Regions from separate parts of the Homo sapiens genome. Here region 1 is linked to region 2. Evidence: promoter capture Hi-C in 16 types of primary human blood cells and fetal thymus (Javierre and others, 2016). All regions are on one chromosome and are shown on one strand. Each heading gives the region's core, a stretch centred on a gene start or on the middle of the fragment in contact. The rest is flanking DNA. Distances are from core to core; before and after follow the strand shown. Region 1 has its middle 7.8 kb from the start of LINC02577. Region 2 holds the start of DLD (dihydrolipoamide dehydrogenase).

Region 1 (6,920 bases), core at 1,129-3,628, 1.1 Mb before region 2:
AATTTAACTCACTGCTCTCTGCCTGAAGCAATCAGAGGCCCATGTAACCTTCTCAACCCAACCCCATATCCCTCCCCTCTCCTCCTTGTCGTCTTTGCTCCCCTATCCTCTCTCTCCTTTTTGTGATCTTTGCTCCCAGATGCCAGCTGATTTGTCACAGGAAGGCAAACAGCTCCTGATGTAGGAGGTGGGGTTGAGAGCTAGATTGGAGGGCAATGTTCTGTGTCAGCTGGAGTTGGCAGTCCTCTGCCCAGGCAGGGGAAGGTTTGTGATTGATCCCAATGGACCACCGCACCACAGGCCTCATCATCTCACTGAAGCTCTGATGGACACACAGTCTTTGGTTGCCCTCAGCCCTGCCAAGGCACAAAATAGCAAACAGGATTTAGGGCCAGGTATTATCTCCTAAGAAGATAGAGAAGATGGCTACCTACAGTCATGATGTTAGAGACAAAAGAAAAGCCCCTATAAATGCCAAGACTGGCCACTCTCCATGTTAATCTGCTTCCAGTCATTAGTCATGACATCCCCAAATAGCAGGGGTTTAAAAACACTTTAATAATAAATGCTGGCCTATGGTCAAAGGGATCAAAGTTCCTTACTTTATTTTTCTGGAAAACAAGAACATATTTTCTTCTGTGATCATAAACCAATCATCGTGGGAAGTATGATTCCTCAATAGTAAATGGTCAACTTGTCAAGAACTATAAAGAGTCTGAGATTATATTCTACTTGGCAAATTAACATATTAGCCTATTACTGTTGCATGAATGCTGACAGAAGGCACCAGACTTCTGGCTCAGAGACAAAGGACTTTATCACCCAGAGCACAGAAAGGAGCAGGAGCTACACGTTCATATTAGTTCCCCTTCCCCCGACACACCCACCAAATTCCACAAAGCAACTGCATGGATGCTCCACACACATGGACTTACATCACAGCTAAAGAAAACCCAAGTTTAAGGAACCTCAATCATTTATAATGGGCTGCAAGAAAACCTTCCCAAACTTTGCTCCCAAACAGACATTATCTTTATCATATTGGACAGTAAATAATCTGTCCTCTGCTCCATAGGAAGATGCCATCTTCCAAGGCAGTTCGTAATGCAAAGGTTCTTAAAAAGATAATCAATACAAAAGCAGTTTGTGCCTCTGTTCACAAAATGTGCAGAAATGTAAGGGACCCTTGAAGAATTGTCTCCCAACACAACTCCATCAAGCTGCTATGGTTTGTATGTTGTCCCCTTCAAAACTCATATTGAAAATTCATTGCCATTGCAACACTATTAAGATGTGAGGCCTTTAAGAAGTGATTAGGCCATGAGGGTTCCATCCTCATGAATAGATTAACACCATTATCACAAGAGTAGGTTACAGTTATTGCAAGAGTTCAGCCCCCTTTGCACACTCACTTGCTCTTCCGCCTTCCACCAGGGGATGATGCAGCATGAAGACCCTCACTAGATGCCAGTGCCATGCTCTTGACTTCTCAATCTCCAGAACTATGAGCCAAATAAATTTATTTTCTTTATAAATTACCCAGCAGAAAACAGACTAAGACACAAGCCCTCAGCAAGACCAAAATCTATATTCTCACCATTGGTATCACTATCTCACATTGAATGGTATAAAGAAAGGCAATGTGGGCCGGGTGTGGTAGCTCACACCTTTAATCCCAGCATTTTGGGAGGCTGAGGTGGGAGGATTACTTGAGCACCGGAGTTCAAGATCAGCTTGAGTAACATAGGGAGACCTTATCCCTACCAAAAAAAATGAAAAAAAAAAATTGCTGGTCATGGTAGTGTGCCTATGGTCCTAGTTACTCAGGAGGCTGAGGTGGGAGGATCACTTGAGCCTGAGAGATCAAGTCTGCACTGAGCTATGATTGCACCACTGCACTCCAGTCTGGGTGACAGAGGAAGACCCTATCTTTAAAAAAAAAAAAAAAAAAAGTAAAGCTTCTGCATAATTGTTCCTCTTTGCAGTAGGTGTTATTGGGGTCCTACTCAGGTCCTGTTTATCTGGTAAATGCCTGCATTCCCCAGCTGTGTGAATGTTGGCTGTTGGCAACTCACAGCTGTACCCCTAACCTAAGAATAGCCTTCAGCAGAGCTGTCTTGCCTAGAAATGCCTGTAAGGCGTATGCCTCCCTACCCAACACACACACCCTCCATAGGCAGCACACAGGCAATGACTGACTGATGAAGAAGCACAAAAGACCCAAGGAAGGACAATTCTGTGATACCATTCATGCCCCAGAACTCCCGCAGGATCAGGTTGGGGTCAGACTTTAGCGTACACGCATCTTTGCCCAGCTTCCTCCCCTCCCGTCCCCTGCTCAGCTTACTCCTCTACTGGCTTCTCCTGAACCCACTCCCTTAATGAGTCACTCCATTTCAGGCTCTCCTACTAGAGAACCTGACCTAAGGCACTTGCCTTGAACATTTCCAGAAATAGAGCTGTCTGCCTCACAAGGCATGCCATTCTGTTTTTGGACAGCTCTGATCATTAGAAAAGTTTTATTATTTTATTAGGATCACACTGCCTCTGTAATCTCCACACATGAGTCTATGTAGAGTAAGTCTAATCCCTTTTCCACATGACGGCCTCTCAGATATTGGGGCAGGGGGGATTCCTTCTTAAATCTACTTTATTTTTAGGCTATGAGAAAAAAGGGGGAGCTTTTTTAAAAAGTTTTTTAAAAACTATACAATAATATTCTAACTCAGAGTAATGTCTGCCTGACAACAAAATTGCATGAAGCAAATAATGAAAAGTCAGCCAGAAGAAAATCTGAAGAAGCTTATTTCAAATCCACTGGGTGCCAGGGGCAGAGAGAGGGGGTGGGGCAAAAAGACGTACCCAGCACAAGAGTGAAGAAGAGATCAAATCTCAGGAAAAGATAAATCAGACATAAACTACTCAAAACCAGACACAATGAAAGACTGCAAGGATCCCACAGAAGAGAAACCTTATAATTCTCCAGAGATGATGTCATAGAAGTAGACCTAAAAAAACTCTAGGACTCAAATGTGTATATGTCACATGCACACCGTATCCATACTTTGAAGATTTTTAGATAAGGATTGGTAAACACTGTCTCAGGATCATTGAGACTTACTGATGAGATGCATACCTGGAATACAACATTAAAAGAGCATGCATACCTTGTTCAAAAGGAAAACGTTTCCTCGAAAGGATAGGATAGGAAAATTGTATGTCAAGAATATATATATTCCAATGGAAATTTAAAATCTGAGAGTAGAAGTATTTAAAAGGGGATAAACCCGGAAAGAGATGGAAGTAGTATCTTTGAAGGACTGTAATACAGATACCCAGCACATGAAGGAAATTGGGTAAAACAATCCTAGATAGCTCTCATGAGCAGGGCAAAGTCAGAGATAACCAGGTCCATGCATGTTTGTGTCTCCACAATGTCAGATTTTTACTGATGCTATTTTAACCACAAAAGCCACAAGCTACATGGAGTTCTCAAGAAGGCAACTCTCTCCTTAGTACTTCTCGTTCACTCCGTAGTCAGAGCACACAGCTCAAGCCACTCCACAAGTCAGTCAACATTGCAAACCATATATAGTAGTATATTTCATCAACATATAAATGTTAAGATTAAACATTCCACACCAAAGTAATATTTAACATCAAGAGAAAGGGAATAGGAAAAAGGATTAATGAAGTAGTCCGAGGAAAGTGACGATGAAGACAGAAAGAATCTCCTGGTCTGTGCTCGGCGGTCCAGGAAAGGTCTTGAAAGGAAAAGTCTTTGATGTGGGCAGAGCCTTCAGCAGCAGATGCCAGGTGTTGATCACTAGTGACAGTAAGAGCATGTCAGTTAAGATGGCCGCTTTGAGCTGCTGAAGCCCTGCTCTTTTTACGACCACCAGAGGACTGATAGTGGAAGTGTGTGCTTGTTTATGCCCTTATCTGGTTGGATGCAGTCTTTATTTATTACAAATTTATTAAGCAAACATCGTATCCCTGTTGGCAAAATGTCCCGTGAAATGTAAGATGGAGTCTTTTTTTTAAGATGGAGTTACTTATGTCAAGGGTGCTCAATACAATAGCCTTTGTTGGGGCTTTATAACTTAAAATGTGCTTTCTCACATTTTCTTCAATCTCAGAGAAGACTTATCAGATGAATAATACATTATCATTATTTTATGGAAGTTATAAGTGATTAATTGACCATGCCCTGTTAAATTAAGTTTAGCCTAAAGCTGCCTCCTTACATATTTTTAAGTTGAGGCTAAAGGTTTCTCTGCACATAGTGAACTGTAACCTAACTGGATGTATCAACAGACTGTAACTTGCTCTTGTACCCATCACTGAGCTTCAGCCAATTGCAGATGGCCAACTGTTTAAACCACGTTCAAATAAGACAAACATCAAGCTGTAACAATCCAGCTGTTCCTATTCCTCACTTCTGTTTCACTTTCATTTTTCTGTTCATAAATCCTTTTCACGTGAGTCTGTCTGAATCTATTCTGGTTTGGGGATTGCCCAGTTCATGAAACATTCTTTGCTCAATTAAACTCTGTTAAATTTAGTTTGTCCAAAATTTTTCTTTTAGCAGCTGCAGATCGCCCAACTCATCGGTGGTAGGTCTAAGACTCGAGCATGGGTCTTTAAGCCTAAAGTCTATATTCTTGCCACATAGCCATGCTATCTTCTGATACATGTAGCAAAACTGCTACAGAATTGGCCACCTGGAACCAGTTAGTGGTATCCTGCTATTAACCACATGTATTGGTTACCTGATGCTGCCATAACAAATCACCACAAACTAGGTGGCTTAAAACAACAAAAAATTATTATCTCAGTGTTGGCAGCTAGTAGTCTGCAACTAAGGTGCTGGCAGGTTGATGTTTTCCTCTGACGCCTCTAGGGAACCTTCCTTGCCTCTTCCTAGCCTCTAGCAGTTGCTTGCCACCCTTGGTGCTCCCTGGCTTCTAGATGCATCACTGCAGTCTCCACCTACGATCTTCTCCCTGTCTGTGTCCCTGTGTCCCAATGCTCCTCTTTTTATAAGGATCCAGTTATATTGAATTTAGGGCCCATTCTAATCCAGTATGACCTCGTCTTAACTTGATTACATCTGCAAAGACTGTATTTTCAAATAAGGTCATATTCACAGGCTCCAGGTGAACATAAGCTGGGGAAAGGCACACATTCAACCCAGCGCACAGCAGACGGAGAGTTTGTTCTTGGTTTGGGTTACTGACAATTTTCCCTCAGCAGGTAAAGGAATACATTTAGGAAATTTTTGTCCTGGATTCCAACAAGAAAGAAGGAGGTGTCAAATGCAGAAACAAGCAAACCTTGGAATAAAATGGCCTTGATGTTTATAATAGTGAAAAAGGTAATGGTCAGACCTTCAGAAAGGGGGCTTCATAAAAAGTAAGGAAAATAATAGTGCCCAAGGGAATATGTTTAGAAGAGGAATGTAGACTCTGAAAACAGGATTACTTGAGCATTACAAAAATGATCCTGTTTAGGAGGAAAGATATGCTGTCTGGAAAGAAAATATAATAGAAATAATCTCAGATAATTGACCATAAACAAGCTTGTGCTGAAAACATAAACAGCAAGAATAGAATAATAGTCTAGGAGCACACAGTTCTCAGAGAGGAGGTAAAAGGAGGGTTAGATCTGGAGTAGTAAGACTCGAGGTTCCTATGGCTCAGAGGACGGATGGGGTGGACAGACCCAAGCATGCGATAAAAGAAAGGGAAAATTTGTTTAGAGTATTATGAGAATAAAGTCTTAAAATAAAGTAGGGGCGGAGATAAATACTAAAGACAGCAAGAAAGCTGTTTTTCTTTTTAATCTCCGTAGCCAAGAAAAGATCTGGGAAGAAAAACCTATGCTGTATCTCAGACAATATCACCTTAGGCCAAGCATGGTGGCTGACACCTGTAATCCTAATGCTTTGGGAGGCCAAGGCAGGAGGATCACTTGAGCCCAGGAGGACCTCTTGCCCACCAGCCTGGGCAACAAAGTGAGACTCCATCTCTACAAAACTTTGTAAAAAATTAGCCAGGTGTGGTAGCACACGCCTGTGTTCCCAGCTACTCGGGGCTGAGGTGGGAGGATCACTTGAGCCCAGAAAGTAAACCCTCACTAGCCATGTTCACTCCACTGCACTCCAGCCTGGGCCACAGAGCAAGACCTTGTCTCAAAAAAAAAAAAAAAAATTACAATATAACCTTAACAAATGATAACATAATCAAAGAACCATTCAATTTTCTGCTTCCTTCCATATTCTAAGAGAGATGAACATCAATTTTGAAGCAAACATTATGAAGAGAGAATTAAAACCTACAATAGAAAAAGAGATAGTAAGAGAAATCTTCACTTACTCTGAATGACTTCAAAACTTCTGTTAATACAAATTCTATCCCAAAGTATCAAAAGAGTTTGCAGATGAGATCAGAGAACTGCTCCTGAGAATCAAGGAGAATGGAAAAGGTGACTAATGGCTGGAAAATGTTTCTACTTCTAAAAATAGTGAAAGAATGAGATCTGTATGTAAACTGATGAGCCTCATGCAGACGCCAAACAAAATTCTAAAATGGATGATTTGTAGGCAAGATACAGTAAACAAATACTAACCAGTGTGAATTCACTAAGAACAAGTCATGCCAACCAGTCTCACTTCTTTTCTTAGATTTGGTTGCCTGTGTGTCAGGAGGAAGGCATGCACATGGTATGCCTTGGTTTTAGCATAGCATTTGCCAAATATCGTGATGCACACCTTTTGTTGTTAAGATGGAGGAATGAGGGCCCAGGTAACAGCAAGATGACTGGTGGTTTGCTGCATAGTTAGGCATTCAATGTCACCCAAAGAATATTGGCCAAAGACTTGACTTCCACCTTAAAAGGCAAACTCCAAGAATTTATGA
Region 2 (6,887 bases), core at 3,252-5,751:
TCCATTTGCATTATGAAGGTACATTTTCTTCTAAGACTTACTGAGTCTGTTACACTGGCTCAACAAGGAATTAAGATATAGTTTGATATGAGGAGGAAAGGGCTTGAGAAAGGAACTGATGTTGGTTAAATGCTTACCATGGGCTAGACCTTGTACATATATCATCTACTGAATAATTACAACAACCTGTCGTGTGGGAGCTAGCACCTTGTGTTACCTTTAAAGAAAGTGAAGATTAGAAAAGTTAAGAAATGTTTACAAGTTTCCACATTTATTTATTACATTGAGGAGCAAGAATTCATAAACCTTTTCAACTCCAAAACTCATGCTCTTGTCATTATATTATCAACTGTACCAAAAAACTCGATGAAATGTAGCCTATTGTATTTAATATTTCCTTTTTCTTAAACCAGCAAAAGAAGTGTTTTGAAAAACCATGCTTTTCAAATATTTTGATTGCCTGACTTATTGCATGTATAATGAATAACTCATCTCCATTAACCCACTTAAATTAAGGGGTTTAATGAACCCCTTAAACTGCCAGTTAGAACTTCTGATTCATTTAAGGTAACCACTGTTAAGAATTAAAATAAGTGGGCTGGGTGCGGTGGCTCACACCTGTAATCCCAGCACTTTCGGAGGCCGAGGCGGGTGGATCACGAGGTCAGGAGATGGAGACCATCCTGGCCAACATGGTGAAACCCTGTCTCTACTAAAATACAAAAATTAGCCAGGCGTGGTGGCGGGCACCTGTAATCCCAGCTACTTGGGAGGCTGAGGCAGGTGAATCACTTGAACCTGGGAGGCAGAGGTTGCAGTGAGCTGAGATCGAGCCACTGCACTCCAGCTTGGTGACAGAGCAAGGTTCCGTCAAAAAATAAAATAAAATAAAATAAGTGAGAGACAATATAAATCTTTAAAATATGCTTTGTCTTTGACCTAGCAATTCCACTTCTGGGAATTTACTGCAAGGAAATGATAAAGAATGTGTGCAAAGACTTAGTGATAAGCTAATCACGATATTGAAAAATTGGTAATGGCTTACATATCTAATAATAAAATATAGTTGAATAAATTAGGGTATGTCCCAAAATACTCAGTAGTCATTAGAAGTAGGCTAATATTGAGAGGTGACAGCGTGCTGGCAGCCCTTGCAGCCCTGGCTCCCTCTCGGCGCCCCCTCGGCCTTGGTGCCCACTCTGGCCACGCTTGAGGAGCCCTTCAGCCTGCTGCTGCACTGTGGGAGTCCCTTTCTGGGCTGGCCAAGGCTGGAGCCGGCTCCCTCTGCTTGCGGGGAGGTGTGGAGGGAGAGGCGCGGGTGGGAACTGGGGCTTCGTGCAGCGCTTGCGGGCCAGCTAGAGTTCCGGGTGGGCGTGGGCTTGGTGGGCCCTGCACTCGCAGCGGCTGGCCGGCCCCACTTGCCCCGGGCAGTGAGGGGCTTAGCACCCAGGCCAGCAGCTGCAGAGGGTGCGCCAGGTCCCCCAGCAGTGCTGGCCCACTGGCGCCCAAGGGCTGAGGAGTGCGGGCACACAGCGGGACTGGCGGGCAGCTCCGCCTGCCGCCCCAGCGCAGGATCCACTGGGTGAAGCCAGCTGGGCTCCTGAGTCTAGTGGGGACTTGGAGAACCTTTGTGTCTAGCTAAGGGATTGTGAGTGCACCAATCAGCACTCTGTGTCTTGCTCAAGGCTTGTGAACACACCAATCAGCACCCTGTGTCTAGCTCAGGGTTTGTGGATGCACCAATTGGCACTCTGTATCTAGCTAATGTGGCGGGGACTTGGGGAATCTTTATGTCTAGCTAAGGGATTGTGAATACACCAATCGGCACTCTGTATCTAGCTCAAGGTTTGTAAACACACCAATCAGCACCCTGTGTGTAGCTCAGGGTTTGTGGATGCACCAATCGGCACTCTTTATCTAGCTAATCTGGTGGGGACTTGGAGAATCTTTATGTCTAGCTAAGGGATTGTGAATGCACCAATCGGCACTCTGTGTCTAGCTCAAGGTTTGTAAATGCACCAATTAGCACTCTGTGTCTAGCTAATCTGGTGGGGAATTGGAGAATCTTTACGTCTAGCTAAGGGATTGTGAATGCACCAATCGTCACTCTGTATCTAGCTCAAGGTTTGTAAATGCACCAATCAGCACTCTGTGTCTAGCTCAGAGTTTGAAAATACACCAATCGACACTCTGTATCTAGCTAATCTAGCGGGGACTTGGAGAACTTTTGTGTCTAGCTCAGCCATTGTAAACGCACCAATCAGCACCCTGTCAAAATGGACCAATCAGCTCTCTGTAAAACAGACCAATCAGCTCTCTGTAAAATGGACCAATCAGCAGAATGTGGGTGGGGCCAGATAATAAAAGCAGGCTGCCTGAGCCAGCAGTGGCAACCCGCTTGGGTCCCGTTCCACAGCGTGGAAGCTTTGTTCTTTCACTCTTTGCAATAAATCTTGCTGCTGCTCACTCTTTGGGTCCACACTGCCTTTATGAGCTGTAACACAGCGAAGGTTTGCAGCTTCACTCCTGAAGCCAGTGAGACCACAAACCCACCAGGAGGAATGAACAACTCCAGACGCGCTGCCTTAAGAGCTGTAACGCTCACCGCAAAGGTCTGCAGCTTCACTCCTGATCTAGCGAGACCACGAACCCACCAGAAGGAAGAAAGTCCGAACACATCCAAACGTCAGAAGGAACAAACTCCGGACACGCCGCCTTTAAGAACTGTAACACTCACTGCGAGGGTCCGCAGCTTCATTCTTGAAGTCAGTGAGACCAAGAACCCACCAATTCTGGACACAATATGAATATGGAAAGTTGCTCATGAGATAGTTTTAAGTGAAAAAAATCAAGTTAGCAAAATAAGTGTGGTCCAATTTCTGGTTATATTCCTTAGCTGGAATATAAACACTGCTAGTGTGGGCTGTCCATTGTTGACATCGCTCCCTCCACCTCCCGTGTGTTCGCATTAATTTATATGCGTTGTGGCTTTTGTTCTAGCTGAGAGGAGAAGAGGTATAGTTGGTACAAGAGATGAGGAGGAATGTGGAGAAATATGGTGAGTGCAGTAAGGAATCTATTTCCTGCCTCACTTCTCATACTGGGTTGAGCCCCTAGGCTTTGTGAATGACAGCTGGAAAGGATGGAAGTGTTTCATTTTTTAAAAATAAAAATATGATATTGTAATTTTGGACAAAGGAGTAGGGAACAAAGCCCAAGAAAGTTCAGGAAAGAATTGTGAGATTTTGTGCATATGGAGCAGTAACTCCTAGACCAGATGTCAAAGACTGCCATGAAGCTGGAGAGGAGACAATTCTCCCCATCTGTGTGGTGGAGGCTGCTCAATGTCCCCCAATTTCGCTTCATCTCATCTTGCTTATTAATACAATTTCAGTTAGGCACTCAGCTGACAGGACTATGTTTCACAGATCCCCTTGCAGCTAGGTGTGGCTTTGTAATCAGATGGAATGAGGGGATATGATTGTAGAAACTGGAGCAGCCATCTTGAATGAAAGATGCAAGGCAAGCTCTGATGATGGCAGAGTCACGAGATAAAAGGAGCCTGGGACCCTGTCACAGGACAGAGCTGCCAGCAATACCGTCTCTATAACAAACACTAAATTTAATTATTCATATCTAAATCTGAACATAGGCAGTAATTTCTAACCAGTGTTTAGCCCAGCACAAGGCCTGGGTGGTAGACTTCCAATAAATGTAGAATTAAGTTTATTCACACTATATAGACTTATTGCAAGGCAAGAATGAGACCTTAGACTTTCGTGCTCAATCTTGAAGACAATGTTTTTCAACCCTTTTCAACAGATTCTCTCTCAAAACCTAAAATCTCATCCACCATCCCACTCTCTTTTTACCAGGGAGATGTGTTTCTCAACTAAAGAAATAGAAGAAAGTGTGTTCTCTACGTATTGTCAGTTAGCTAATTAGAGCAGAATGCTGGTGATGCCAAAATCTGTAGCCCCATCCCTTATATGGCATTTGAGAGGAGCGAGTATAAAGCAGTAGATAATACCAAAGGTTTTGGCCTCAGGGCCGCAGTTATCTCTCCTTTGTGAGACCTTGGGGGCACTGTTTAACCTCTCTGGGTCTCATCCAAGAAATGGAAATACTAATAATACTCCATATGGTTGTTGCAAGGATGAAATGAGATGTCTGTAGGAAGTGCCGAGGAATGCCTAGCACAACCAAGAGCTTGTTGAACTTGTCACGCTTTACTGTCGATAATGTGCATTAAGCAAACGCTAGTTTTATTTGTTTATTTCATCTTCTAAGTATAAGAATACATTGTAGCTCGACATTTTGGCACCAGCCCCTAAAGCATTCCCACCACCACCCCCGCTGCGACAAAGCCCTGCGCTCCTTACGACAGCGTACGACGCCGAGCCTGACAGGAACGCCTCGTGCGGTAGAACCGCGCGGGCCAATCGCGCTGCTCCCGGGTGATGACGTAGGCTGCGCCTGTGCATGCGCAGGGAGGGGAGACCTTGGCGGAGCGGCGGAGGCGCCCAGCGGAGGTGAAAGTATTGGCGGAAAGGAAAATACAGCGGAAAAATGCAGAGCTGGAGTCGTGTGTACTGCTCCTTGGCCAAGGTGAGGGCCGAGTAGGTGAGGTCGTGTTGAGCCAGAGGCACGGAAGGTCCCGCTCAGTGGGTCCGGTACGCGGCTTAACCGTGTTGGGCTGGCGGAGGCGGGCGCCTGGGCCGCACCACCCCTGGCCCCGCCTCTGCACTGGCTCAGCCCGGCCCTGGGCTCCGAGGTGGCCGCTCATCCTGCAGCAGGCGAGGGACGGGGCTGGGCCCAGGCTGTGGCGAGTCCTTTCGGGTTGTGTGACGGCCGGCGGTCACACATGCCACACCCCCAAGCCTGGGCCGAGGGCCATCCCGGTCACACATAGGCCTCTACCTTGGAGGAAGTGTAAGCCACCCATGTCCCGTATAGTCTGGCTTTTTATACCATTTGCCTTTTTCTCATCCTAATTCTGATCCCTGAGTGGCCTAAGTTTATGCAGTGGGCAGGTAACCCTGGGGTCACTTCTTGAATGGTTTAGATCCAGTCAGCTCCAACAGATAGCCCTCGGAATTCCCCTAAGGTCTTGTCAGTGTTGGCAGCTTTCAACTGGTGTTCATTGCCATCTCTCACGACTTCCTGGAGGCTTAAATCTTTAATTGCAGCAGGTTATCAGAACAACTCTCCTTTTTAATCTGCTTACCAGATACAGCCAAATTGTGTGTATGTGGCACCGTGGCTGGGTACTATGTTAGTGGAGACCTTAAAAATAATATAGCGATCAAACCCTTTTGTTTCAGAGATGAGGAACCTGAGTTCTCAAAAGTTAATGTAACATTCTGCAAGTCATGCTTTTAGGGAGCGGCGGAGGTGGGACTGAAACTCAGGATTGTCAATCTGCTGCTTTTTGGGTTTGCTGTCCTGACCTCAAATGTTAAGAGTTGCCTTGGAATAGGAAACATCAGTGTAGGTTTTGTCACTGCCGCCCATTTTCCTGCTGTGAGCAGGGGTTATTTGCTTGCTTGCTTTCTGCCTCATTGCCCTTAGGAAATGGTAGCCGTCCACATATAGAGATTAGGGAGATTATGATGCAATTTGTCAAACTGTAGTAGCACCAGAACGTAAGTACATTACTTGGTGCATTTTCCTAAGTTACCTTGTCTAATTTGCTATTCCTAGTTGATGTCTCAGGAACATCTTCATAGATTGTTCTAAGTAAATACGGACTGTATATACACGCTAGCTTAGAGTTAGGAAACAAAAATTACAGGTAAAAAGATTATCATGTATAGATTATTCAAGTATTTAAGTTAGAACTTTCAGAGCTTTATTTATTTATTTATTTATTTATTTATTTTGAGACGGAGTCTCACTCTGACATCCAGGCTAGAGTGCAATGGCACTATCTCAGCTGACTGCAACTTCCGCCTCCCGGGTTCAAGTGATTCTCCTGCCTTGGCCTCCCGAGTAGCTGGGATTACAGGCACCCACCACTACACCCGGCTAATTTTCTTGTATTTTTAGTAGAGTCGGGGCTTCACTATGTTGGCCAGGCTGGTCTCGAACTCCTGACCTCAGGTGATCCGCCCACCTCAGCCTCCCAAAGTGTTGGCATTACAGGCGTGAGCCACCACGGCCGGCTCAGAGCTTTATGACATTAAAATGATCCCTGGCACTAATAATTAGCCATGTTTTCTGAAAATTGAATAAAAATACCATTGAATACGTTTTTAAAATTAAGTTAAATATGAGATGATTTGTTGACTATTGATAATAAAAAGATGGGTGTGGCAAGCTGAGGCTGAAAAATTTAAATGATTAGTTATTGTCAAAGAGGGGATATTGATCTGTAGCTTCTGTGTGGCAATGGAAGAAGATACACTAATAATCCTCGCTTGATACGTTTGCCCAAAATTGTTCTGTTATCATCAACCTTCAGTAGTTCTATGTTTTGAATTCATATCTTACATAATAGGGACATTTTCTTTTTCTAGAGAGGCCATTTCAATCGAATATCTCATGGCCTACAGGGACTTTCTGCAGTGCCTCTGAGAACTTACGCAGATCAGCCGAGTAAGTACTTAAGTAAAACATTTTTTTCATCACATTAGCTGACAGTTCCTTTCTATTTCAATGTAAAAGCAAGTGAATATTGGAATAACTTATGTTAAGTGTCTTATAGTTCATTTGTTCATGTATTTATTCGTTTGAATGTATATTGAGCTAGTGTGTTCCAGGCGGTGAACAAGGTAAAAAAACCCTGCTCTTATGAAACTTGTAATTTGGTGATAAAAGACAAACAATATATAAGTAATGGATAAATATTTTGGGAAGTAACTGAAAATTAAAGCAGGTAATAGGGA

Evidence for each region. The method cuts DNA at HindIII sites, captures the fragments that hold promoters and counts their contacts. A CHiCAGO score of 5 or more calls a contact.
Region 1: a contact is called between a fragment that was not itself captured here and the fragment with the promoter of DLD in region 2, in 1 of 17 cell types (total CD4 T cells). The highest score is 5.1, in total CD4 T cells.

The regions. Positions count from the first base shown.
Region 1 is chr7:106,763,775-106,770,694 of GRCh38, forward strand. No RefSeq gene overlaps it. Among named protein-coding and RNA genes, the nearest start is that of LINC02577, 7.8 kb to the right of the region's middle. The HindIII fragment of the contact is 844 bases long and covers 1,957-2,800 here.
Region 2 is chr7:107,886,682-107,893,568 of GRCh38, forward strand. DLD (dihydrolipoamide dehydrogenase) reads left to right here and starts at 4,502. Exons shown (of 14, transcript NM_000108.5): 1 at 4,502-4,608; 2 at 6,519-6,597. The coding sequence starts at 4,570. RefSeq lists enhancers at 4,203-4,282, 4,240-4,922, 4,433-4,672 and a silencer at 4,733-4,842. The HindIII fragment of the contact is 5,175 bases long and covers 2,423-6,887 here.